Linked DNA regions of Homo sapiens: regions 1, 2, 3, 4, 6 and 7 are each linked to region 5. Evidence: promoter capture Hi-C in 16 types of primary human blood cells and fetal thymus (Javierre and others, 2016). All regions are on one chromosome and are shown on one strand. The core of a region is centred on a gene start or on the middle of the fragment in contact, and the rest is flanking DNA. Distances in the headings are between cores, read along the strand shown. Region 1 overlaps LOC112268431 (a long non-coding RNA gene). Region 2 has its middle 82 kb from the start of LINC01907. Region 3 overlaps CAB39 (calcium binding protein 39). Region 4 has its middle 100 kb from the start of LINC01907. Region 5 holds the start of SP140 (SP140 nuclear body protein). Region 6 has its middle 23 kb from the start of LINC01907. Region 7 has its middle 140 kb from the start of SP100.

Region 1 (3,518 bases), core at 4-2,503, 350 kb after region 5:
TTCTTAATTCTTATACTTATTTCCACAAAAGTAGCTTATTACGTGTACATGTACATATAAATATAATTCTTAGGCTGGGTGTGGTGGCTCACACCTGTTATCCCAGCACTTTGGGAGGCCAAGGCAGGCAGATCACCCAAGGTAGGGAGTTTGAACCAGCCTGGCCAACGTGGCAAAACTCCATCTCTACTAAAAATACAAAACTTGTGGGGCATAGTGGTGCATGCCTGTAATCCCAGCTACTCAGGAGGCTGAAGCAGTAGAATTGCTTGAGCCCAGGAAGCAGAGGTTGCAGTGAGCCGAGATCGCACCACTGCACTCGCCCTTCAGCATGGATGACAGAGCAAGACTCCATCTCAAAAATAAATAATTAAAAATAAATAAATATAATTCTTAGAACTATTTTTGTGAAGCTTTCCATACAAATACATCAGTGATGTCATGTTCGCCAAAATATATGTCCAGTTTTTAGGGCACAGAAATATGAATACTTTCATTTCCTGACAATATGAAGTGTGCTCTTTATTATGTGCCAGACACTGTCATGCTAGGTTGGAAGGACACAGCGAGAACAAGCAGCTGTGGTCCAGAGAGAGCGCATGCTAAGCACACGATCACAACGAGGCAGGAGTTTTATCTCACAGCAAGCAAGAAGTGCTCTGGAACAGACAGGCCAGTCCAAGAGACAGGAAGAGGCCTATGGGAAGAAATATCACGTGAGCAGGAGGTAGCCAGATTAGGGAGAAGATGAGTAGGATAGAGGCCAAGAAAACAGACCCTGATAGAAGACAGCTTGGGCAAAGTAATTTGAGTAACTAAAAGAAGCCAGCGTGACTTCTTGGAGTGAGAGAATAGAGGCTGGAGAAATAGGAAGGGCCCTCATTGCCCAGCCTTGGAAGTCTAGTAAAGGGATCAACTTAAACCCAGGTATCATCATGCCAGTCATTGGAGGTTAGGCAGGAAGACAGCACAAACATACCTGAACTTTGGTACGATATAGCAGCTGAAGTTCATGGGAGAGTTATCAGAGATCTGATTAGCATCATAGCATCAGAGATAGAGAAAAATGATCAGGTGGCAAATGCCACCAAGTACAGTGCACCGGGCTCGATGGTTGATGTGGCATAGGGGTTGAGGGAGGGAAGAACTCAGGAGGATTCTTGAGTTTTTCTTTTTTTTTTTTGGAGACACAGTTTCACTCTTGTTGCCCAGGCTGGAGTGCAATGGTGCGATCTCCCCTCACCACAACCTCCGCCTCCCAGGTTCAAGCGATTCTCCTGCCTCAGCCTCCCGAGTAGCTGGGATTACCAGCATGCACCACCATGCCCGGCTAATTTTTTTATTTTTAGTAGAGACAGGGTTTCTCCATGTTGGTCAGTCTGGTCTCGAACTCCCAGCCTCAGGTAATCTGCCCGCCTCAGCCTTCCAAAGTGCTGGGATTATAGGTGTGAGCCACTTGCCTGGCAAGATTCCTGAATTTCTTGCTTGAGAAAACTTGACAGTAATGGCCATTTTACCAGAAAGGGAACTCTGGAAGAGGAGGAGGAAGGGGAAAAGGATGAGGATGTGGTTTCATGGAAGAATGTGTCTCCTCTCTCGCTGCCACACTGACCCCCACCAATTTTTTATTTGCTCTTTACACTCACTCTCACTTCCTGGCTTCTTCGTGCCTCTCCCTCACTTTCTCTGTTCCTGGTATTTACATTGACCTCATGTTTCTCTCTCTGTATGATTTTTCTCACTGTCCCTCATTTGAGTTTTTAGTTTATGTCTCCTCTGCCATGTCTCTCACTTCCTCCCCCATGTCTCTGTGTTTCTGGGGCTTCCTTTGATCCTCTGTCTGCCTTGACCCTTCCAAGCATTTTCTTCCTGTGTCTTCTCCTTGTCTGAAAAGTCGTGTCCCTCCATTCCTTTTTTGGCTTTAACTCTACCTCCAGGGCCCCTTTCCCTTGCCCTCCCCATTCTGAAGGTTGTCTACAATGACCTTTCTTCCTTGCAAATATGATGGTCACAGACCTTGTTTGCCTGATCTTGTGGCAACTTCTAGCAAATAGGACAAACATTATTTCCTTGTCAATCCTCCACCAACCTGGGAAAGCTTAGACATCATGTCCACTTAGGTAAAACTGGGCTCCCTCCTAAAACTTGCTATTCCATGGCCCAATCATCCACCTCTTCTATACTCGCGCTCCTCAGCTTCTCCACCCAGGGTGCCATGCTCCAGGGAGGCGTTCGCCTCTCCTTTCTCTCCTGCCTGGAAGACTTAGGGCATGTACTCTCGGGGTCCTGCCAGTGAGTGCCTCTCACAGTGTTGCAGCCCGCGCACATCACATGCCTCATCCTGCTTGTTTCCTTCACAAATTTGAAAGCAACCAGAGGCTGGGCTCCTGTCGGGGAGGGAGGGGAGGAAGAGAAGCCCTTCCTCCCTCCACACCATGAGATAATCAGGTAATCGGTCACTTAAAGGGCAGGATTCAATTGCAGTACCTTGTCTACCATGTGGCAGTCTGCTGGGCATCTCTTCTGACCCTCTCTCCTTTTTTACTTGGAGAGCCTCGAGTTCCCTAGGCACTGAAGAGGGAACATAAAATGAGACACCAGATCCAGTGGCCGGGAAAAGGACAGAGATGTGACCACACTGAGCGCTGCGGTTGGGAGCAGAAGTGAAATGCTCCTGGGGAAGTGATGCTCCTCTCCGAGGACCCCTGCTGAGATCCAGCCAAGCCCTGCTCTGCCTCTTCCCATCTTGTCAGACCTGGTTCTCTCTCTCTCTCCTGCTCAGCCTTCCACCAGGATCCAATCCCCAGGCTTCTGCCCTAGGAAGGCATTTCTGCATCATGGACTTAGCCAGCTTCTCTCTTGTCTTCCGGTGCATCTGTCTCTCTCCTCTCCAGCAATGCTGCAGGAGAATGCATTCCTCATTCTCCATTTTCCCTTCCCAACTCTCTCCTTCTACATCTCTTCCAACCTACATATCAGGCTCCAGTCCTGTTCTCTCTGTGTCTCCGTGTCTTTTTCTGTCTTCCTCACAGCAACTAAAAGACATACCTTTCCATTACGTCAATGTCTGCCTGCAGTGGACATTGGTCTATCTTTCTACTGTCATTCAGGACTCCTTGGGGTCTCCCCTTAGATACTGAGCATGTGACACAGCACTGCCTTCCCCCTTCTGTGTGTGCTACAGACGCCTACCACTAGTCACCCATGCAAACACCTGGCCATCATCAGCCTTACCTACTTGGGTGCATGTGTTTGCTTGCTGTGTTCCAAGAGCATCACCTGGGCCAAGGATAGAACATTCTGGCTTTATATATGTTGACTTCACATCCTAGACAGGCTCAGAGGTTTCTGTTCTGGTTCCAGAATGGATGGCCCCTAGATGACATTATGATTTCATAAATATGGCACTGTGACATCATAAATCAAAACCTAAAGTTTTTATTTAAATGCATTAATAAATTAATCAAATATCCTTTTTGATCATGTATCCCGATTGTCAATGACATCAGAATGACCTT
Region 2 (3,731 bases), core at 1,073-3,572, 390 kb after region 5:
CCAAAGTGCTGGGATTACAGGCATGAGCCACCACGCCCGGCCCCTGTAAATAATTTTTAAAGAGGCAACCTCGATGGGCACTGATCAGTGAAACAGAGGTCATTAGAGCGCTTGCTATCTGAAGGCGGAAATCCTCCATCCACTGGGCAACACTAGCCCTTGACTTAATTTCATTACAATGAAGGTGAATTTGGCTCTGGTCACTATCGCTCCAGCTCAGAAAGTATTCTGGCTGCAGTGAGCCCTGGAAGAGACAGATCTGAAAATTTACTGAGGTTAGAATCAAGGCACCTTGGAGTCAGGCAGCCATTGGTTGGATTTCTAAAACTGTCATTTACTTTGAGTGGCCTAGGGCACATTACTTTCATTTTTGTGAGTGTGTGTGGTTTTTGTTTTGTTTTGTTTTGTTTTTTTGAAATGGAGTCTCATTCAGTTGCCCAGGCTAGAGTGTCATCGTGCTACCTCAGCTCACTGCAACATCCACCTCCTGGGTTCAAGCAATTCTCCTGCCTCAGCCTCCCAAGTAGCTGGGATTACAGGTGCACACCACCACGCCCAGCTAATTTTTGTATTTTTAGTAGAGATGGGGTTTCTCCATGTTGGTCACGCTGGTCTCAAACTCCTGACCTCAGGTGAGTCGCCCACCTCGGCCTCCCAGAGTGCTGGGATTAGAGGTGTGAGTCACCACACCTGGCCTAGGGTACATTACTTTCTGCATGCTTGTTTCCTTATATGAGAATATAAATAACTATAGCATTTTTCTGAAAGATAAATTTTTAAAAGTATGTGAAAAGAACAGAATTCTTGGCCTGTGGTAAGTACTCTATAAATGGTAACTATTTTTGCCATTATTTCCATTTTCACTGTTGTTTGGAGAAGAAATGAAAAGTTGAAGAGAGTGTTTAATCAGTTCATAAAGTTGCCAGGGGACTTTAACAGCTCACAAGAGTAAAATGCTAAAAGAGAAAATCTCCAAGCCTTAGGGAAGAAGCTTAAGGGAGTTACACAGGAAGTTTAATGCCCTTTATATTTGTGTGTAATAAACACACATCATAAGAAAGGAATTCCCTTAGCCGGGCGGGGTGGCTCACGCCTGTAATCCCAGCACTTTGGGAGACCGAGGCGGGCGGATCATCTGAGGTCAGGAGTTCAAGACCAGCCTGGCCAATATGGTGAAACTTTGTCTCCACTAAAAACACAAAAATTAGCCGGGCGTGATGGCACATGCCCATAATCCCAGCTACTAAGGACGCTGAGGCAGGAGAATCTCTTGAGCCCGGGTGGTGGAGGTTGCAGTGAGCTGAGATGGCGCCACTGCACTCAAGCCTGGGTGACAGAGCGAGACTCCGTCTGGAAAAAAAAGAAAAAAGAAAAAAAAATCATTTCATTTCCAAACTTATAAATAACTGGCAACAAGTATTTTTGCAGAAAGCACTAGAGCAAAGTACTCTCCATCACAGCTGAAAAAGGGTTTTATTTAACTTGGAACAGCTGCAGGCACAGAGACTGAAATGTTCCTGCCATTGAACATTGAGTTAGGGAGTTCCCAGCTACACAGGGCAGGGCAGCATCTCTGTAGGACACCTGGAACCAAATGGGCTGAACTGGAACAGAATGAAAGAGAAATCCAGGTGGGACCAGAGAAGTAACTATTCCAAAGCCCTGCTCAGGTGAGTTTTGACTCAAGAAGAATCAGAAATCAGAAGTTCATCTTGGGGCTTCCTATATCTATTAATTTTCTGTTGTCTTTTTTTTTTTTTTTTTTGAGACAGAGTCTCACTCTGTCACCCAGGCTGGAGTGCGTGATCTCAGCTCACCGCAACCTCCGCCTCCCGGGTTCAAGCAATCCTCCCACCTCAGCGTCCCAAGTAGCTGGAGCTACAGGTGCCTGCCACCATGCCCAGCTAATTTTTGTATTTTTAGTAGAGACAAGGTTTCACCATGTTGGCCAGGATGGTCTTGAACTCCTGGCCTCAAGTGATCTGCCCACTTCAGCTTCCCAAAGTGCTGGGATTACAGACATGAGCCACTGCGCCTGGACTTGTTGTCTTAAACTCTTAAGTTAGAGAACTTTCCAGGTCATGGCTAAGACAGACATATTGACCAGAGACACCATCAAAACACTTGCAGCCCAAACTGTGAAGTCATTTCAATATGACACCCAGTGACTCCTTTTGCAATTGTCATTCTCAACCCATTTACACTCTTTCTTCTTATAAGAAGAGATTTTTTGGCTGGCTGCAGTGGCTCACACCTGTAATCCCAGCACTTTAGGAGGCCGAGGCAGGCAGATTTCTTGAGTCCAGGAGCTCAACACCATCCTGGACAACATGGCAAAACCCTGTCTCTACAAAAAATACAAAAATTAGCTTGGCATGGCAGTTCACAACTGTGGCCCAGCTACTCAGGAGGCTGAGGTGGGAGGATTGCTTGAGGCTGGGAGGCAGGTTTCAGTGAGCTGTGATCATGCCACTGCACTCCAGTCTGGTCAAAAGAGTGAAGCCCAGAAGAAAGAGAAAGAGAAGAAAAGAGAAGGAAGAGAAGGGAAGGGAAAGGAAAGGAAAGGAGAAGGAAGAGAGAGAGAGAGAAAGGAAAGAAAGAGAGAGAAAGAGAAGGGAGGGAGGGAGGGAAGGAAGGAGGGACGGAGGGAGGTAAGGAAGGAAGGAAGGAAATGAAGGGGAAACAAAGGAAGAAAGAAAGGGAAAGGAAAGGAAGAGAGAGAAAGAAAAAAAGAGAAAGGAAAGGGAGGGGAGGGGAGGGGAGAGGAGAGGAGGGGAGAGGACGGGAGGGGAGGGGAGGGGAGAAGAGAAGAGAAGAGAAGAGAAGAGAAGAGAAGAGAAGAGAAGAGAAGAGAAGAGAAGAGAAGAGAAGAGAAGGTCACTTCCAAGATGGCCAAATAGCAACAGCTCCAGTCTGCAGCCCCTAGCGAGATCAATGCAGAAGACGGTTGATGTCTGCATTTCCAACTGAGGTACCTGGTTCATCTCACTGGGACTGGTTGGACAGTGGATACAGCCCATGGAGGGTGAGCTGATGCAGGGCAGGGTGTCGCCTCACCTGGGAAGTGCAAGGGGTTGGGGGATTTCTCCTTCCTAGCCAAGGGAAGCCATATGACAGACTGTACCTGGAGAAATGGTATACTTCTGACCAAATACTGCACTATGCCCACAGTCCTAGCAACTGGCAAACCAGCAGATACCCTCCCATGCCTGGCTCAGCGGGTCCCATGCCAACAGAGCCTTGCTCACTGCTAGCACAACAGTGTGAGATCAACCTGCGATGCTGTAGCTGGACGAGCGGAGGGGAGTCCGTCATTGCTGAGGCTTGACTAGCTCACAGTATAAACAAAGAGGCCTGGAAACATGAACCGGGCGGAGCCCACCTCAGCTCAGCAAGGCCTACTGCCTCTATAGATTCCACCTCCGGGGGCATGGCATAATAGAACAAAAGGCAGCAGACAGCTTCTGCAGGCTTAAATGTCCCTGTGTGACAGCTCTGAAGAAAGCAGTGGTTCTCACAGCATGGCATTTGAACACCAAGAACAGACAGACTACCTCCTCAGTTAGGTCCCTGACCCCCATGTAGCCTGACTGGGGAACACCTCCCAGTAGGGGCCAACAGACACCTCAAACAGGCGGGTGCCCCTCTGGGACAAAGCTTCCAGAGGAAGGATCAGGCAGCAATATTTGCTGTTCTGCAGCCTCTGCTGGTGATACCCAGGCAAACAGGGC
Region 3 (4,028 bases), core at 659-3,158, 490 kb after region 5:
TTTTGTTTTGTTTTTTGAGACAGGTTCTCACTCGGTCGCTCAGGCCGGAGTGCAGTGGTGCGAACATGGCTCACTGCAACCTCAACCTCCTGGGCTCAAGCCATCCTCTCACCTCAGCCTCCTGTAGACGGGACCACAGGCTCGTACCATCACATCCGGCTAATTTTTGTATTTTTATAGAGACAGGGTCTTGCCATGTTTCCCAGGCTGGTCTTGAACTGCTGGGCTCAAGTAATCTCGCCTTGTCCTCCCAAAGTGCAGGGATTACAGGCGTGAGCCACCACGCTTGCCTGGATATCTGTTTTTTTATTTCAAGGCAGCTTACTTCCCTTCATTAGCATTTTCTACTTCAGGTTCTTGTACTAAGTCAGTTTTTTCCCATGTATTTTACATTCTAAGGTGTATTAATAAGATCTCTGTTTCTGTTTCATCACGTATGAAGTAAGATGCTGAGTAAGGCTGTATACGTTTCCTAAAGTTAATGTAGAAGAACTGCTAAGAAAGTCCAGTATAAGTATGGGGTTTGGTAACTTGATTTTATTTGAATGTTTGTATATTGCAAATACGTATGCCACACAGGGTCTTTATTACCTTGGAATATTTACTAAAGTTTTCTGTTTTGATCAACTTTTGTGGGATTACAGATTTCTTTAGTTATTGCCATACTTTCCCAAGAGCCTTTTTTCCAGATTGATGACTAATCACTCACAGTTTAGCCATCTGCCATGAAAATACACAAATCCAACCTCCCCAACCCCCAAAAATAAAATTCAGTAGTAGGACGAATTTTGTTTCAGGTATTGTCTTTTGTTTACCTTTCTGGCATTGTTTCTATTCCAGCTCTATTTTATTTTTTAATTTAAAAAATGTTTTAATTAAAAGAGATGGTGTCTCATTCTGTTGCCCAGGCTGGTCTTGAACTCCTGGGCTTATGCCATCCTCCTGCCCCAGCCTCCCAAAGCACTGGGATTATAGGCCTGACCACACTGGCCTCCAGCCCTATTTTAAAAGGTCAGGCCGAGCGGGGTAGCTCACTCCTATAATCCCAGTGCTTTGGGAGGCCAAGGTGGGAGGATTGCTTGAGCCCAAGAGTTGGAGGCCGATCTGAGCAACATAGCAAGACCCTATATCCACAAAAATAAAAAATTAGCCGGGCATGGTGGTGTGTGTGCCTGTTGTCCTAGCTACTCAAGAGGCTGAGGCAGGAGGGATTGCCTGAGCCCAGGAATTTGCAGCCTCAGTGAATTTTGATCACTGCATTGCAGCCTGAGGTGACAGAGTGATACCCCATCTCAAAAAATGTATATATAAAATAAAAATAATAAAAATAAAAATTCATTTTCCTCTTTTTCATTGCTTCTTTTAATTGGGCATTTGATTTTATGAACGTCTTTACATGTTACAGAAATGGGACTGTGGAAGGTGGATTAATTTGGATAACAGAAAAACTGGTAAACATTTTTTTTTACACACTTTGATAAAATTGTGGGGAAAAAATATCAAATCTGAATCTCTGGGTTAAATTACTTGTGACTTGTTATTACTGAGGTGTAAAGATCTGGCATTATTATGAAGTCAGGTAATCTAAATTTGCATAGCAATTTAGTCATCAGTATCTTTTGGCCATTGTAAGAAGACTTGTATTAGAGCCTTCTTTAATTACAGAAGGAATTGAGCTGTGTGAGAGTTCGTACGTTCTGTGCCCTTAGTGACTTTCCGACCGGATCCCAACCACTACTTTTTAAAAAATTCTCCTGCAAGGGTGTCTTGCAGTGAGAAAGAGAGACTGGACTCAACTCCCCTCATCTCTACAGTCCGGAATATGGGGGCAGAGCAAAGTGAAGCAAATACTTCTGCCGTCACCATTTGTAGAGTAGAACAGTCTGTGAATAAAATGATCAGTGTTCTGCCTCTGTTTCTCAGGCCCTCCGAGGATTATGAGAAGAGTTACTACAGGCCTAGGTGGCAGATCATAGACTGGTGGTGATGAAATCAGGTTAACAGCTAGTTGCCATCTGCATTTTTGGGGGGTGTTGTGCCATTTCTGTCTCACTGAGCTTCCCAGTCCCACTGTGCTTTTAACTTTTAAAACAGAAGGGGTGAGGGGACAGCAGAATTGTGGTTTATAGCAGCTGTGATGTTAAGCCTGCAGAGGAAGGCAGGATGGCATGCAGAGAATTGCGGGAGGTCATTCGGGTGTGAAGTGGCTCCAAAGGAGGGAGGTAAATCCTGCCTTGGCCCTTCATGTTGACCATATCCAGTGCATACCTATTTGTATGATCTTTAATAGCTTTTGTCTTGGTACTCAGAATATAGTGTTTAAGTTATAGATTGTGTTTGCTTGTTTATGTGTGTATTCATATGCATGTTTCAAAGATGGGGAAAATCTAGCCATTATTTAGTGGCAGTTTGTTTTTATATGGTAATTATTCTTTGGGAGCATTATCCAGCAAAAATTGTTGAGGACCACGGAAGTATGATACTGTTAAAAGATCACACACTTTATTTGGTAATACATTTGAGAAACAAAACATACATTGTGTATCTTGATCTTAATTAAGTTCCTACTTTGTGATCTTGTCTCATGAACTGTAACTTGCTCTTTACAGTGTACTGACTATTAACATGCTAGTCACTGTTGTCTCCCTCCACAGTAGATTATATATCAGCTGTATTGAGGCACTAGGAAGAAATACTTGGACAGGTTTCTGTTTACATGTCTGTAGTTAAGGCCCGCTTTTAGGTTTATAGAATTTGGAGAGGTAGTGTTAGCCAGTGGTTAAAAGCGCAGGTGCAGCCAGACTGCCTAGATTTTGAACCCTCATTCCTCTGCTGTGGGCTCTATAACCTTAAGTTCCTTCTGTCTAGCTTGAATTCCTTGGATGGTAATAGTAGACCATATCTGAGAGGGTTGTAGGACGATTAAATGAGTTGCTACATCTGATGTGCTGCCGTGTATCAGATGCCTAGACATAAGTTTTGTGATGCTCATGATAGGCTTTTCCAGGGGGGAGAAACTTTAGAACTTCAGAAACAACCTAGGCAGAATGGTTCTTTCTGCAGGTGGGAACACTGAGGCCCACCGTAACTAGAGCAGAGTTTGGTTCACTTTGAGCAGTAACAGGTGTAGCTTTCTGCAAAGTGAAGTCTCTTTTCTAGGGTTTTATGGCTTATTAGCCACAGGACTGAATCTGGAGCCTGGTTTTCTTCATTCTTTGTCCAGTTTACTTGAATTAAGTATCATACTTTATGCAGTAATGTCTTCTTTTGGACCTTTTCACTAACATTTACAAAGGTTGTATTCAAAATATATTAAATGTTCTTTGTCATATAATTCTTTTTTAAGGTTTAATATACTAATATTCATAATATTTGTGATGTAGCTGGCAAGTGATTTGGGAGGCGTGTATGAAGTTAGAAGTCGAAATAGACAAAGAATCAAGGAAAATTAACAAAAATTAGTTAGCTTGGGGGAACAAATTACCGTTTAGGTCCACTAAATGTTGGGCAAACCTCTTAGGTAGTATTGTCCCCAACATCATTGATGGGAAACCAAAGTGGAGGGTTTGTCCAGGATAACACAAACATTGCACAGTTGAGCCAGAATTTGAACTCAGGTCTGCCTCACTTCAAAATATGTGCTCCCTGAAATAGGGTATGACTCCCTCATGAAATAATTTTATTTTCCTTGCTGAGCAGTTTTGAATTAGTATTTTAGAATGGAGGTTTATAAATAGATCCGAATTTGGATTTTAATAGGTTTCCAAGCAGTAACCACATTACAATCTAAAAGAGATGGTTTATTATAAATGCTTTCGTTGTATAGTCATAATTTGATTAGTGGCTTATAGTTTAGTTAGGCCAGTAGATAGTATTTAATTTCTACATTATTCTTGTAGAGAAGATGGGAGGCCTGTGTTACAGTGGGAAACACAGAAGCCTGGGAATCGAAAGATCTGGGCTGGGTCCTGACTCCATGGCTAATTATGTTGTCACTCTGTACAAGTAACTCCATCTCTCTGGGCTTC
Region 4 (3,614 bases), core at 377-2,876, 370 kb after region 5:
GTACACATACACCATGGAATACTACACAGCAATAAGAAATGATTCTCCACATGGTCAGCTGGAGATCATTATCCTAAGCAAACTAATGCAGAAACAGAAAACCAAATGCTACATGTTCTCACTTATAAGTGGGAGCTGAACATTGGACACACTTGGACATAAAGATGGGAACAGTAGACACTCGGGACTAAAGAGAGGGGAGGGAGGAGGGCCAGGGTTAAAAAACCACCTATTGGGTACTAAGCTCACTACCTAGATGACAGATACAATCGTACTGCAAACCTCAGCATCACACAATAGACCTTTGTAACAAACTTGCACATCTACCCCCCACCACCAAATCTAAAATAAAGTTTGAAAAAGAAAAAATAAAAATAAAAAATTAGTTGCATTTCTATAATATATACTAACAACAAACAGCTTGAAAATGAAATTAAGAAAACATTCCCATTTACACTGGCATCAAAAAGAATAAAATACTTAAGAATAAGTTTAACGAAGGAGGTAAAAGATTTGTACAATAAGAACTATAAAACACAGATGAAAGAAATTGTAGAAGACACAAACAGAATAATTAATACCATTAAAATGCTCATGCTATACAAAGTGATCTGCAGATTCAGGCAATCCCTATGAAAATTTCAATGATGTATTTCACAGAAATTTTTTTAAAATCCTAAAATTTGTGTGGAGCCAAAAAAGACCCCAAATAGCTTAGGCAATCTTGAGAAAGAAGAATGAAGATGGAGGCATCACACTTCCTGATTTCAAAGTATATTACAAAGATATTGTAATTAAAACAGTATAGTACTTGTATAAAAAACAGACACATAGGCCGGGCATGGTGGCTCATGCCTGTAATCCCAGCACTTTGGAAGGCTGAGGCAGGTGGATCACCTGAGGTCTGAATTTCGAGACCAGCCTGGCCAACATGATGAAACCACATCTCTACTAAAAATACAAAAATTAGCCGAGCATGGTGGTGGGCACCTGTAATCCTAGCTACTTGGAAGGCTGAGGCACGAGAATCGCTTGAACCTGGGAGGCGGAGGTTGCAGTGAGTCAAGATTACTCCATTGCCCTCCAGCCTAGACAACAGAGTGAGATTCCGTCTCAAAAAAATAAATAAATAAATAAATAAAACAGGCCCATAGACCAATGGAACCCAATAGAAAGTTCAGAAATACACCCATATATACATGGTCAACTAGCCTTCAGCAAAGGCACCAAGAATACACAACGAGAAAATGATGGTATCTTCAATAAATCATGTTGGAAAAATGAAATATCCATATGCAACAAGAATGAAATTGGATCTTTATCTTACACAATACACAGAAATTAACTCAAAATAGATTAAAGAGTTAAAGGTAAGATCCAAAACTGTAAAATTCTAGAAGAAAAGAAGAGAAAAGCTCCATGTCATTGGTCTTGGCAAAGTTTTTTTGATATGACACCAAAAGCGCAGGCAGCAAAAGCAAAAATAGACAAGGGGATTTTCCACAAACTAAAACACTTCAGAGCGGCCAAGGAAATAATCAACAAAATGAAAAAGCAACCTACAGAATGGAGAAAATATTTGCAAGCCATATATCTGATAAGTGTTTTTTCTTTAGTTTTAATATCTTTTTTAAATATACTTAATTTAATTTTTGTGAGTACAGAGTAGGGGTATTTATGGTGTATGATAAGGATTAAATATCTAAAATATATAAAGAATTCATGCAACTCAATAGCAAAAAAAAAAAAAAAACACATAACCCAATTGAAAAATGGGCAAAGGACCTGAATAGACATTTTTCCAAAAAAGATATACAAATGGTTAAGGGGTTTATGAAAAGGTGCTCAACATTACTAAACATCGGGGAAATGCTAGTCAAAACCACAATGAGATATCATCTCACACCTGTTAGATGGCTATCACCAAAAGGTCAAAAGATAACAAGTGTTGGCAAGGATGTAAAGAAAAGAAAACACTTAAATGTTGTTGGTGGGAATGTAAATTCCTGCAGCCATTCTGAAAAACAGCGTGAAGGTTCTTCAAAAAATAAAAAATACGGGCGGGGCACGGTGGCTCAGGTCTGTAATCTCAGCACTTTGGGAGGCCAAGGCAGGAGTTTCAGACCAGCCTGACCAACACGGTGAAATGCCCATCTGTACTGAAAATATAAAAATTAGCCAGGCGTGGTGGCATGCACCTGTAGTCCCACCTACTCGGGAGGCTGAGGTAGGAGAACCATTTGAACTCGGAAGGCAGAGGTTGCAGAGAGCCGAGATCGCACCACTGCACTCCAGCCTGGGTGACAGAGCAAGACTCAGTCTCAAAAAAAAAAAAAAAAAAAAAAACTACCATAGGATCCATCAATTCCCACTACCGGGTATATATCCAAAGTAAATTAAGGACAGGCACAGTGGCTTAACCCTATAAATCCCAACACTTCTAGTTATACGGTATAGCCGTAAAAAGTGAAAGCATTACCTTGGATATTTGCATACCCATGTTTACAAGAGCATTCAGTGGCCATGCACAATGGCATGGTATTCAGCCATGAAAAGGGAATAAAATATTGATATGTGCTGCAGTGTAGATGGACCTTGAAAACACTGGGCTAAGTGAAAGTAGCCAGACATGGAAGGACAAATGTGTGATTCCACTGATCTGAGGTACCTAGAATAAGCAAATTCATAGAAACAGAGAATAGAATCGAGGTCACCAGGGGATGGGAGGAGGGGGAAGGAATGTGGTGTTATTTGTATAACGGGTAGAGAGTTTACATTGGGAATGACAAAAAAGTTTTGGAAATAGTGGTGACGTTTACACGAATGTATTGTGAATGTATTTAATACCACTGAATTGCACACTTACAAATGACTAAATGAGAAATTGATAATGCTAAATAGTCATATATATTAACAATGAAATGATAACTATTATGTATACTTTGCTACAATAAATAATAATAATAATGATAATGGGAGAGGACTCATGTTATTTGAATGTGGAGCTTCGTGTTAATTAGTCCAACTAAGCTATCACATGCTGCTCTCTGGAGCGTGGGGACAGACAATAGCGCTGAGCATAACTGGGGACAGAAAAATAAATTGGCGGGGGCAGGGAGGCTCAGCTTAGTTGAGAGTGGGATTTTGTAGAGAATGAATGTCATGACCAATATCAGAAGTTTCTCAGAGCCACAGTTGAGCTGCTTTTTCTGCTGGTTTCAGGTGACGGCAAAACAGTGGCACAGGTGTGGGCCTGAAGCCCGCATAATGGAGCTTTCCCCTCCTCCCTGGATTCAGCCACACCCAGGACGAATGAGGTTTGGCTGCAAAACTTAATAGTTTGGGGGGTTTGGGGGTTTTTGTTTTTTGTTTTTTGAGACCGAGTCTCACTCTGTGTCCCAGGCTGGAGTGCAGTGACATGATCTTGGCTCACTGCAACCTCCACCTCCCGGGTTCAAGCGATTCTCCTGCCTCCGCCTTCCCAGTAGCTGGGATTACAGGCCCCGCCACCATGTCCGGCTAATTTTTGTATTTTAGGAGAGATGGAGGTTTCACCATGTTGGCCAGGCTGGTCTCAAACTCCTGACCTCAAGTGATCCACCTGACTCGGCCTC
Region 5 (3,719 bases), core at 1,017-3,516:
CTGTGAGCTACCCAATATAGTTCTAAGAAATTGACTTTTTGCCTGAGTTAGCCAGAGTCAGTTTGGATTACTTTTACTCCCAAATCCTGACTGATAAAAATGTTGGGCACCAGAGGTTGAATTATAGGCAAGAGATATTCAAGGAAATATGATCAATCTGGGATTGGTTATCTGACATAATTGGACATAAAAACAGTGAACATCCCCATTAGCGTTCAGAGTCAGGAATTTTGGAGTTGTGGGCAAATAGGGGTAAGTTGGCAAATTAAATTACAGCACTGGATTGTGATCAAGACTCTATACAATTCATTTCCCCAATTCCAGGTGTCAGATTCTAGCATGCTTAGCAAAATGAAGAGAAATCTTCCAGGTAGAATGAAAGCATTGATTTACCTTTGGGGATTATGACCTACTTGGCCTAAATCTGGATGGGGGAACAGAGCCAGGAGGCAGGCCGGAGCCTTCTGACTCCACTGGTCACGTGGCAGTAAAGGAAGACATTGGGAACCAGAGATGGTCTGATGGTCCTACATATGCCTGGCCCAGGAATCCCTTACCCAGGAGAGGTTCTGTAGTGAGCATAGGGAAAAACAAGATAGTGGGAAATAGAACTGAAATTTCAGGCTATCCTTACCTGGGCTAATGCATGGTGTTGCAAAGTAGGGCTTTCTAGTAGTAGCAGCAGTACCCCTGAAGTACCAATCTTACCACCAGTCAGCTGAGGAACACCAATGGCCTTGTGCTTATAAGCAAAAGAAGCTGGCACATTTTCAAAAATGTCCAGTTCATTGGTGTCCTGGGTCTGCCTACTGCCTAAGGGCAGAGAGAAGAGAGAGAGGGGATGCTGGAGCAGGCGGTATAGTCTGTACCAGGCCTTGTTGGAGCCCCATGGAGACTGGGAGGAGAGGACAGCTGTGTCTAACAGAAGCCCAGCATACTTTTCCTTCTTGTTTTAAAGAGGGAGGGAGAGGGAGGGAGAGAGAGGGAGAGGGAGGGAGAGGGAGGGAGAGAGAGGGAGAGAGAGGGAGACAGAGGAGAGAGAGGACAGAGAGAGAGAGAGAGAGGAGAGAGAGAGAGATACTGGAAAAGGTGTCCTCATCAGTGTTCTAGAGTTTGTCTCAACCAGATTGGTGTTTGTTCCTTTGGTAGAAAGAAAGCAGAAGTGTGGAAGGGGTAGAAATTTCTTGCACTCTGTATTTTGCAAACTTATGTATGCAAATTTCCTTGCATATGTGTAATGAACCAGAAAAAGTAGGATTCAGGAGCACATGTTTTGGAAAAATACTGCTTTGCCTCTGGCTTTTCAATCCTCACTACTGTTCTGTCACTGGCCCTGGATTCTACCCATACCCTGGCTCTCATCAGCCCCCTGTCTTTGACCCATTTTTCTGCCTGGATTTCTAGTCCTGTGGTTATATTTTTTATATTTGCCCTTTGCTTCCATTTGTTTATCACTCGACTTTATGCTGATATAGTGTGTTTTTGTAAATTGTTTCAAATCCTTTACAGAATGAGGGCTGGGTATAAATGAAAAATTGTGTGCAAACATAAATGTAATACAGCTATCCTCCTGTATCATATTGTCCTTGAAGGTCTAGATAATCTCAGCTCCAAACCCTTTCCCCATCCAGTGAGAAGGCTGTCACTCTCCTCAAGATTTCAGTGAAATGGTTGAAGCTCATTTTTTTCCCAGTCACCCCTGGCTGCTGTTGTAAAGTGCCCACATATTTGAGAAAACTTAGAATTGCACCTCATTTCTCTGCCCAACCTCAGCACTTGCCTTTGGCTGGAGGAGTTGAGAGAGTTGTCTTTTACCTCTGTCTGCTTTCATGGAGTGCTAAGAGCATCTCCCCCACTTTCTAATGCATGCTATTTCAGTTCTCCCTGGCCCCATGTCCAAACACTGGGCCTAAGCCATCCAGCCCAGGCTCACTAAGGTGCATGGCCAGCCCTGGAGCCTGACTGAAGATTTGAAATGTCTGGTCTTCACTTGTCCTTCTCAGCCACCTCAGCAAGGGGTGGGGACAAATACAGAGTTTACTTCCTCCTCATGATGCCACCTTACCTCAAAACAACTTTGATCTGCTTGAGTTGAATGACTTTTCCACCCTCTTTCCTTGGCAGGAACAAGTGACCCTGTCTTCCGTGGCCTCGTGGGGCTGGCTCTGCTCCTCCTCCCTTGACTGAGAGACGTCATGGAGATTGGGTGGAGGGAGGACTGTAGAGTTGGTGCACCCACGTCAGCTAGTTAGGCAATTTCACTTTTCTTTTCCTCTTTGACTGAGCACCGAGGGGCAGTTGGCAGCTTCACCTCAGAGCTGCAGGAAGGAACGGGGCAGTGAAAATCGAATCGGGTGTGATCCTAGGCCAAGCTCATGGCCCAGCAGGGCCAGCAGGGGCAGATGGCAAGTGGAGACAGCAATCTCAACTTCAGGTGGGTCATCGTCTCCTTTCCCGTCTGTCCTTCATCTCTGGTAGGGTTCCCTTTCATACTTGTTATTTAATGTCTACCCAGCTTCACTCTACAGGTATACAATAGAATTCAGTTACAAATAAATAACGAGGCAATCAGATTTTTTAAATTGCAGGGATTGGCTGTTGGAGAAACTCAAGGATGCCGTGACTCACATCATCTTCCTATTCTCTTACATCTGCAAATGGCTGGACTGGAGCTGTTTGAACATCATGCCTGTTCTGAGGCTTTGTGTAGGATTGGATGATTCCCCGTGACCTCTGAACCCTCTCTTCTCCCCCAGGCCTCCTTTATCCCCACTCCAAAAGACAACTCTGTCTAAAAAGGATCTTTTTAGAAGAATTAAAATCCAAACGCCTGTCTGTTGTCACACTTTCCAGGCTGTGTAGTTGGGGACCGGTTCTGCTCTGAGCCCATCTATGTGGCTCTTAGCCCTAGAATCACTTCAGGATCTCTGAATACTTGGTAGGAGGAAGTGAAAGCAGATGAGACCCAACAAAAAAGGCAAGCAGGTAGAGAGTGAGTGCTGCTTCTGCTTTTTTTATTCTTCTGTTCTGGTATTTTTTACATATCTGGTCAGAGAAGCCTGGAAATCATCTTTAAAAAATGTAAGACAATGAGACCAGTCTGACCAACGTGGAGAAACCCTGTCTTTACTAAAAATACAAAATTAGCTGGGTGTCATGGTGTATGCCTGTAATTCCAGCTACTCAGGAGGCTGAGGCAGGATAATCGCTTGAACCAGGGAGGCAGAGGTTTTGGCGAGCCAAGATCACACCATTACACTTTAGCCTGGGCAACAAGAGTGAAATTCCATCTCAAAAAAAAAAAAAAAAAAAGACAAGTACATCAATACGGTCATTTCTTCTTATCTGTGGATTCTGTATCCATGGATCTAACCAACCATGAATGCAAAATATTTTCTAAAAATTAAAAACATAAATAACAACAATAAAAAGTAATATAAAAATTTAAAATACAGTATAACTATTTGTATAGCATTTACATTGTATTAGGTATTATAAGTCTAGAGATGATTTAAAATATACAGGAGGATGTGCATAGGTTATATGTAAATACTACACCTTTTATATCAGGGACTTGAGCATCCATGGATTTTGGTATCCATGGAGGGTCCTGGAACCAATTCCCCCTGGATACCAAGGGATGACTGTACATTCTTGATAAAAATGAAAATGTGTGGAATGTAAAAATGTATGGAAACTTGTCTAATTGGGACTCTGTG
Region 6 (4,022 bases), core at 968-3,467, 450 kb after region 5:
CCAGTGTGACTGGCTGCAGAGGGGCTTGGCTGTTCAGTTATAAGAAGAGGTTCCCACGTACATGCCCTCCTCCTGATCCTATGCTAAGCCCCAGCACAGGGATGGGAACCTGTGTGTCACCCAGCCTTAACCACTCAAAGAGGGGATGCCTATAGCTCAGGCTCTCCTTTCACTCCATTAGCATCTATCCACCTGGGTCCCTTTTCCCCAGTTAATCATGGCTGCATCCGTATCACGAAGCCTTCTGCTCTGAGGACAGCCAGCCGGGACCAGACATATATGCAGCAGGCTGTGCCTTCCTTCTATGCCTTTGTTTGTGCGGCCCTCTTTCCTCTGCCCACCTGTATTCACCTGGCTGAGGCTCAGAGATGCAGTTTAGGCACATTGGCTGCAGAAACCTGTCTCTGAATCCTCCAGCTTCTCCAGCACCCTGCAAAGACCTTGCTCCTAGTATTTCATTCATTCATTCAACAAATACTTAAGTACCTACTCTGTACCTGTCCTGGGCACTAGGGATGCCACCATGAATAAAAGAGACGAAAGGAAAAAAAAAACTCTGCCCTTATAAGACATAGATCCTACAGTATGTGGGACGGAGACTGATAATACATGAAATAAACAAGCTACATGGCATGTCAAATTCAAAATTCTGTAACGACAAAGAAAGCAGCAAAGGGGGTGAGGCACGTGGGATGGTGGGATGGTCACGTATGTGTGTGCCTCTCTCACAGCTCGGCGTGCTCCTTCAGAACAAGCATGGGATTGTGTTTCTCTCTGGGTCCCCACGCCTAGCCAGGCACCCTGCTGAGTAGTCTTCTTCACTAGTGCTGCCACATACTTAACCACTTGCCCTTTACAGCCCAGAGATCCCTGGGCTGTCTGCACCTATTTCTCCCCAGAGTGCCCAACAGGTCACCAAGGAGGGAGGGTCCAAGAAGGGCAAGGCAGGGCTTGGATAGGCTCCCAGGACTAAGCAAGCAACACCTACCAGCTCAGGCCTTCTTGAAATTAATTCTGGGGGTCAAGCCAATATCATTTGTAGAGCCATAAGCCCTAAGGAAGAACCCTTCAGACAACAAATCAACGAATGCAGCATTCTAATTTTCAACAAACGTATGAATTGCAACATAGCATTAATGACAGAGGCACTGGAAAAGAGTGCTGCCCTGATGGTTTCATAGGAACCACAGTTTACTCAGGGAGGCTGGCTCTGGGCATGAGGAAGAGGGCTCAGCTTTAGTGCTGCTTTATAGAAGTGTACTGGGTTTTTGTCTTGTTTTTTTTTTTTTTTCTCGTTCTGTCGCCTGGGTTGAAGTGCAGTGGCAGGATCTTGCCTCACTGCAACCACTGTCTCCCAGGTTCAAGCAATTCTTCTGCCTCAGCCTCCCAAGTAGCTGGGATTACAGGCATGTGCCACCACACCTGGCTAATTCTTGTATTTTTAGTAGAGACGGAGTTTTACCATGTTGGCCAGGCTGGTCTCAAACTCCTGACCTCAGGTGATCCACCTGCCTCAGCCTCCCAAAGTGCTGGGATTACAGGCATGAGCTACCGCTCCCGGCCTATTTTTTAATCAGTTATACTGGAGGTGGGTATGCTCTCCTCCTTCCTGACTCAGCTTAGATAGGCAACCCTGTGTCCCAGAAGATCCCTCTACTGTGCCCACACCCCATCTGCCCATGGATTAGCCCTGACCCAAAGTGGGCCAGTCACTTTCTTCTTGGGATGTGGAAGTGAGTGCAGTTTGAGAGGCGAAGCTGCTGATGCTTGAAATCCAGCTTGTGGGTGGTGCAGTTAGGAGGTGATGTGGAGTGAAGTCAGCACCACATGTAGGGCCAAGCTCCCCTGCTGCCAAGAGGAGGCTGGGGCAAATGCAGGCAGGGAGAGGCTGTGATGCTGCAGGCCAAGAGGCAGAAAGAGAGAGACAGAGAGGGAGGCAAGAGAGAGAGTTGGAAGAGAGAAAGAGAGGCTGGGACTGGCCAGAATGTGTCCTGCCTGTGGCTGTCTCAGAGGTGCCTCATCCTCATAACAACCCTTCCTTCTTGTAACTTGAGCTAATTTTATGGATTTCTTTTTTTTCTTTTTCTTTTTCTTTTTTTTTTTTTCAAATGGAGTTTTTTTCTGTTGCTCAGGCTGGAATGCCGTGGCGCAATCTTGGCTCACTGCAACCTCTGCCTCGTGGGTTCAGGTGATTCTTCTGCCTCAGCCTCCAAGTAGCTGGCATTACAAATGCTCGCCACCACCCCAGGCTAATTTTTGTATTTTCAGTAGAGATGGGTTTCACCATGTTGCCCAGGCTGGTCTTGAATTCCTGACCTCAGGTGATCCACCAGCCTTGGCCTCCCAGAGTGCTGAGATTACAAGTGTGAGCCACCATGCCTGGCCACATTTTAAAATCTTACAGTTTCTGTGGGTCAGAAGACCACACATGGCCTAGGTGGTCCTCAGTTTCAGGGCATCTCAGAAGACTGGAATCAAAGTGTTGGCCAGGTGCAGTGGCTCATGCCTATAATCCCAGCACTTTGAGAGGCTGAGTGGCACCTGGACAACAGAGTGAGACCCTGTTTCAAAAACAACAACAAAAACAAAAACAAAAACAAAAGACAACAACAACAACAAAAAACACAAGGTGTCAGTTGGGGTTGTGGTCTCATCGGAAGGTTCAGCTGGGGAAGGAGCTACTTCTAGCCTCACTCACAGGGTTGTTGGCAGGGCTGTTAGGCTGAGGCTGCCCTCAACTTCTTATTACATGGGCCTCTACAGCTCTCTTCATCAGAGCAAATGTGTGAGAAGAGCCAGAGAGAGTGCAACAAGATAGAAGTCACAATCTTTTATAACCTACTCTTAGAATTGTTATCCTATCACCTTTGCCGTATTCAATTAATTAAAGCAATTAGCTAGGTCTAGCCCACAAACAAGGGGAAGGGATTTCACAAAAACATGAATACCAGGAGAGGAGAACTAGTGGGGGCCATGTCAGAAGCTGCTGGCCACACCCCTGAACTAGAAAAACCACAAGATTACATGAAAAAGACATTTAAGGAAGGCCCTACCACAGATGGAAACCTAGCCTTGTCCACAATTCCAAGAAGATCCTTTAAGTTCTAAAGTAATCTGGTTTTGTTTTTCTTTCTGTTTTTGTTTTTAGAGAGAGTCTTGCTCTGCTACCCAGCCTGCAGTACAGTGGTGCAATTGCAGCTCACTGCAGTCTCAACCTCCTAGGCTCAAAGGATCTTCCCTCCTCAGCCTCCTGAGTAGCTGGGACTACAGGCATGCACCACCATGCCTGTGACCCATAAAGTTCTTAAGCCAATGTAACTTACTCAATTATGTTGGTGTGTCACTAAAAGAATAAAAGAGATGAAAGAAAAAAAAAAAACCTGCCCTTATGGGACATAGATCCTACAGTATGTGGGACAGAGACTGATAAAACATGAAATAAACAAGCTACATGGCATGTCTTTCCCTGCAATTCCAGCAATAAAATTCCCAGGAGAGGCTGGGGAGAGAGAAACACACACCAAAGAGTAGGTAGAGACAGTGAGAGAGACAAAGAATAAAGAAGAAGGTAGGGAAGGTGGTAGGGAGGGGGAAACGGGGAGAAAACAAGAAGGTCTAAGGAAACATATTACTTCTTGACAGCAAATACACCAAAAGCTACCGTTTCTTTTTTTTTTTTTTTTTTTTTTAGACGGAGTTTTGCTCTGTCACCCAGGCTGGAGTGCAATCGCACAATCTCGGCTCACTGCAACCTCCACCGCCTGGATTCAAGCTATTCTCCTGCCTCAGCCTCCCAAGTAGCTGGGACTACAGGTGCCCGCTACCACGCCTGGCTAATTTTTGTAGCTTTTAGTAGAGACAGGGTTTCACCATGTTGGCCAGGCTGGTCTCTAACTCCTGACCTCAGGTGATCCGCCCATCTCAGCCTCCCAAAGTGCTGGGATTACAGGCATGAGCCACTGTGCCCGGCCAAAAGGTACCATTTCTAATACAGATATAACCCTAATTGACTTGGGACTTAA
Region 7 (3,918 bases), core at 446-2,945, 330 kb after region 5:
AGCCGAGATCACACTACTGCACTCCAGCCTGGGCGACAGAGCAAGACTCTGTCAAACAAACAAACAAACAAACAAAAAAGCTCAACATCACTGATTATAAGAGAAATGTAAATCAAAACCACAGTGAGATACCATCTCATGCCAGTCAGAATGGCAATTATTAAAAAGTCAACGAACAGCAGATGCTGGCAAGGTTGCAGAGAAATAGGAACGCTTTTACATGGTTGGTGGAAATGTAAATTAGTTCAACCACTGTGGAAGATGGTGTGGTGATTCCTCAAAGATCTAGAACCAGAAATACCATTTGACCCAGCAATCCAGTTACTGGGTATATACCCAAAGGAATATAAATCATTCTATTACAAAGATACATGCACATGTATTTTCATTACAGCACTATTCACAGTAGCAAAGACATGGAATCAACTCAAATGCCCATCAATGAAAGACTGGACAAAGAAAATGTGGTATGTATACACCATGGAATACTATGCAGCCATAAAAAAGAATGAGATCATGTCCTTCACAGGAACAGGCATGGAGCTGGAAGCAAACTAATGGAGGAACAGAAAACCGAACACCGCATGTTCTCACTTGTAAGTGGGAGCTGAGCAATGAGATCACATGGATACAGGGAGGGGAACAACACACACTGGGACCTGTTGGGGGTGGGGTGAGGGGAAGGAGAGCATTAGGAAAAATACCCAATGCATGCGGGGCTTAATACCTAGGATATGGGTTGATAGGTGCAGCAAACCACCATGGCATACATTTACCTATGTAACAAACCTGCACATCCTGCACATGTACCCAGAACTTAAAATGAAAATGAAAAAGCCTCATAATTTTGCTAGCATATTTAAAATAAAATATCAACATATGAATACACAGACTCAAAGCTTCCATTTGTTAAACATGGACTTTATAATTATGCAGAGAATGGATCCAGTGAGTTGCTTGGATCCCTTTCATGTGGATGCACTGAGAAAGTTCAGACTCCTAATTACAATCTTTTTCTTCTTTACCTGGCCAAATTCTTGGTGAGGAATTTTGTTTCTTGACCCTATTCTTTATTATTATTTCCTAAAGGATAACAACTGCTGATCATAGGAGAAAGTAATAGAATTCTTTAGGGGTTTTGGTGATAACCAACTCAGAAGAAAATGCCATATTACAAAAAAGAAGAAAAAAAGAAACCTAGAAAAGACCTCGAAAAGTTCCAGGCTAGAATATACCCACCCACAAGCTAAATTAGTCTGCTTTTTGATTCATCTGAGGGATGATCAGAAAGGTTGGGAAAAACTTACCCACAATAGGCAACTTGCATTGTCTTGTAAAACTCTTCTTACACTTTGCTCCCTTCTGATATCCTACCCTTTCAAATCATTCTACACATTTCCTCTTCCTCTGCTCTTTTCCTCATATATGGAAGCCTTGGAAACTATGTGTTAAAGGCACTACAGCCTCCACCAACCACAGTCCTCAAACAGGTGAAATAGAGCTTTGCCCATCCATCCCATCCTCTATCAACATGGAACCCCCTTGTTTACAAGAATGTAAAACAAGCCTCAATTTTGCTTGAGCTGTTACATAGTTTTTGGTCCATTTAACAGCTATTATCCTATAACATTGAATATAGAAGTCATAATGAAAACTGGCACTGGTGATGAGAATGCTGTGGCCCATGCTTGTAATTCCAGCTGAGCCAGGAGGATTGCTTGAGTCCAGGAGTTCGAGGCTGCAGTGAGCTAGGATGGCGCCACTGTACTCCAACCTGGGTGACAGAGCAAAACCCTGTCTCTAAATAAATAAATAAATAAATAAATAGAAAGAAACTAGTACTGGAAGTGAGGTGTTGCCATAATAAAAATGGCTTAGTGATCAGGAATTTTATATCAGAGCATGGAAAATGGTTTCCTTTATTAGGCAATGGCAAAACATGACAGATTTCTTGCAAGATATATCACAAAAGGTAAACATTTTTTTAATGCCTCTAAGTCCTGTAGCTCTAGGAAAAGGAATTGGAAAACACTAACAATAGAGTCTGTTGGTTACCACTCACTGGGTTTGAAGGCTTATTACAGTTAAGAGATCAGCTCCAGCAATAATTGATTCATTTGAGAACAAAAGTGAATGGGACTCAAGAGAGTACAGAAAAGTGGGTTCTCGTAGGGTTGGAGAAGCCAAAAGAACTCCGAAGAGTAAGAGATGAGACTGAAAGAGGCTTTGAGCAACAAAAAGCTAGTTAGGGTTTCTCGATTAAACAGAGGAATTGAGCACTGAGGTAAATTTCAAAGTAAGCAAAGCCTTGACACCTAACCACCTGGCATCAGATAGCCTCAAGGGAGTACCATTCAACTAAGAGAGAAATTTGGTTTGGGAGGGAAAAGTTAAGAAATAAATCAGGCTTATGGATTAAGTTTAGAACAGAACTCTAGATGTTGTTATAAATATGTGGAATTCATGGACAATAAATCAATGAAAAGCCAACCAAGCTTTAATAAAATCACTGAAAGAACCATAAACCTGAACATAAAGTACTTTTCAAGTACTGTTCAAGCCTTAATAAAACCCTTAGTCATCCAAACTTAAACATGCAGAAAAAAGCTGTGAATACATACAGTGCTATAGAAGGGTGTGTCCCCCAGTGGATACTTCAGAGGTGGCCAAGAAGGAAATTGAAAGAGAAAATGAAAAAAAAAAAAAAATAGAGGGCACGGTCAGGAGAATTATTTCAAAAGAGCAGAATCAAAGTCAAGAAATTTCCAAATTCCTCCACTGCTAGAGGAGAGGGACCCCTTTAATCACAGCCTGGTAGATTTAGATAATAGACCATTGGCCACTGTTTGTCTCCCATTTTTCCACTTCCTAGATAGTAGTTGTATTGGGATTACTCTGTCACTCATCAAACATTGTATATTGGAAGTACAGTAAGGGAAGACAAACTTATTAAAAGGTCACCAAAACATCAAGAACATCATCCAGACCTGATAGGGAGAACTGTACTTCACACAAAGTAAGTGGATATTGGCCTGTGTGCAGTAATTATATGGGAGTTTGTGTTATCTCCTGTAAGGGAGGGGCAGGAAGAAAGAGGGTAAGGGGTTCTATATGTGGGAAGATCGGAAGAAGGGTGATACTTGAGGACAAGATAGAAAGTGTATAGGAGAGACAGCTAGCTGCTTACCCAAACTGTATTTTCCTCTTCTTCCAGGGCACACAGTTAAACTATATTTTCCAGGAATTCCTGCAGGTATGAGTGGCCTATGACCGAGTTCTAGATAGAGGAACATCTGAGGAAGACATGTGCCTAGTTCCAAGGCTGACCCATAAAAGCTTCTTACACGTACTGCCCCACAATCTTTCCTCTGCCATGAACTGGATGGCAGTCTCCAAGTAAGGACACCCTTGGAAGCCATGAGTGTCAAAACCTCCATCAGTCTGAGACCATGCATAATTACATGGAAGAGAGCCCCCAACAACCCAACAACCCTCCCATCTCACCAACTTGTAACTCATTAGACTGTTTTAAAAGAAATAAACTTAAATTTTGTTTGAGGATGTTATATATATTGGGGTCTATTTGTTAGAGCAGATAGCCTAATTTAACTACTACAAAGCAAGCTAACTACTACTATTACATGAATCTTCCAAAATCAAAAGGAATTATTTTCTATTTGTAACATATGCAGCAAACAATTAGAATAATTCTTTTGTAAAGAAAAATATGTTTATATGAATATTAAGAGTTTTATTGGCTTTTCTGTTTTCCAAGTGGCTTTTCCCAAAGTATATTTACTTCTAATATCTATAAGATTTATAAAATGGCAGGAGAAATCTAAAATAGGAATGTGTAAAGTCCTTATGTTGTCTAGAAAATGGTAAGAGTATTAATGTTTACTAGGCATTGATAAACCA

The links. Contacts are between HindIII fragments. The CHiCAGO score rates a contact against its expected background, and 5 or more counts as called.
Region 1: a fragment that was not itself captured here is called in contact with the fragment with the promoter of SP140 in region 5 in 11 of 17 cell types (total B cells, naive B cells, naive CD8 T cells and 8 more); the score reaches 10.9 in total B cells.
Region 2: a contact is called between a fragment that was not itself captured here and the fragment with the promoter of SP140 in region 5, in 9 of 17 cell types (total CD4 T cells, non-activated CD4 T cells, total B cells and 6 more). The highest score is 8.9, in total CD4 T cells.
Region 3: a contact is called between a fragment that was not itself captured here and the fragment with the promoter of SP140 in region 5, in 12 of 17 cell types (total CD4 T cells, non-activated CD4 T cells, neutrophils and 9 more). The highest score is 11.7, in total CD4 T cells.
Region 4: a contact is called between a fragment that was not itself captured here and the fragment with the promoter of SP140 in region 5, in 8 of 17 cell types (naive CD4 T cells, total CD4 T cells, activated CD4 T cells and 5 more). The highest score is 9.4, in naive CD4 T cells.
Region 6: a contact is called between a fragment that was not itself captured here and the fragment with the promoter of SP140 in region 5, in 2 of 17 cell types (non-activated CD4 T cells and neutrophils). The highest score is 5.7, in non-activated CD4 T cells.
Region 7: a fragment that was not itself captured here is called in contact with the fragment with the promoter of SP140 in region 5 in 10 of 17 cell types (neutrophils, naive CD4 T cells, naive B cells and 7 more); the score reaches 11.5 in neutrophils.

The regions. Positions count from the first base shown.
Region 1 is chr2:230,576,667-230,580,184 of GRCh38, forward strand. It overlaps LOC112268431 (a long non-coding RNA gene), which reads right to left. Exons shown (of 5, transcript XR_002959453.2): 2 at 3,235-3,375; 3 at 2,488-2,571. Among named protein-coding and RNA genes, the nearest start is that of LINC01907, 120 kb to the right of the region's middle. RefSeq lists an enhancer at 1,729-1,868. The HindIII fragment of the contact is 1,685 bases long and covers 412-2,096 here.
Region 2 is chr2:230,616,382-230,620,112 of GRCh38, forward strand. No RefSeq gene overlaps it. Among named protein-coding and RNA genes, the nearest start is that of LINC01907, 82 kb to the right of the region's middle. The HindIII fragment of the contact is 2,666 bases long and covers 990-3,655 here.
Region 3 is chr2:230,715,705-230,719,732 of GRCh38, forward strand. All of the region lies in intron 1 of CAB39 (calcium binding protein 39), which reads left to right. Among named protein-coding and RNA genes, the nearest start is that of CAB39, 4.9 kb to the left of the region's middle. The HindIII fragment of the contact is 4,922 bases long and covers 1-4,028 here.
Region 4 is chr2:230,598,565-230,602,178 of GRCh38, forward strand. No RefSeq gene overlaps it. Among named protein-coding and RNA genes, the nearest start is that of LINC01907, 100 kb to the right of the region's middle. The HindIII fragment of the contact is 8,478 bases long and covers 1-3,614 here.
Region 5 is chr2:230,223,470-230,227,188 of GRCh38, forward strand. It overlaps SP140 (SP140 nuclear body protein), which reads left to right and starts at 2,267. Exons shown (of 27, transcript NM_007237.5): 1 at 2,267-2,434. The coding sequence starts at 2,376. It also overlaps a transcript of SP110 not described here. RefSeq lists enhancers at 2,147-2,356, 2,587-2,636, 2,707-2,786, 2,807-2,856. The HindIII fragment of the contact is 6,572 bases long and covers 1-3,719 here.
Region 6 is chr2:230,675,557-230,679,578 of GRCh38, forward strand. No RefSeq gene overlaps it. Among named protein-coding and RNA genes, the nearest start is that of LINC01907, 23 kb to the right of the region's middle. The HindIII fragment of the contact is 6,143 bases long and covers 1-4,022 here.
Region 7 is chr2:230,554,643-230,558,560 of GRCh38, forward strand. No RefSeq gene overlaps it. Among named protein-coding and RNA genes, the nearest start is that of SP100, 140 kb to the left of the region's middle. The HindIII fragment of the contact is 1,596 bases long and covers 898-2,493 here.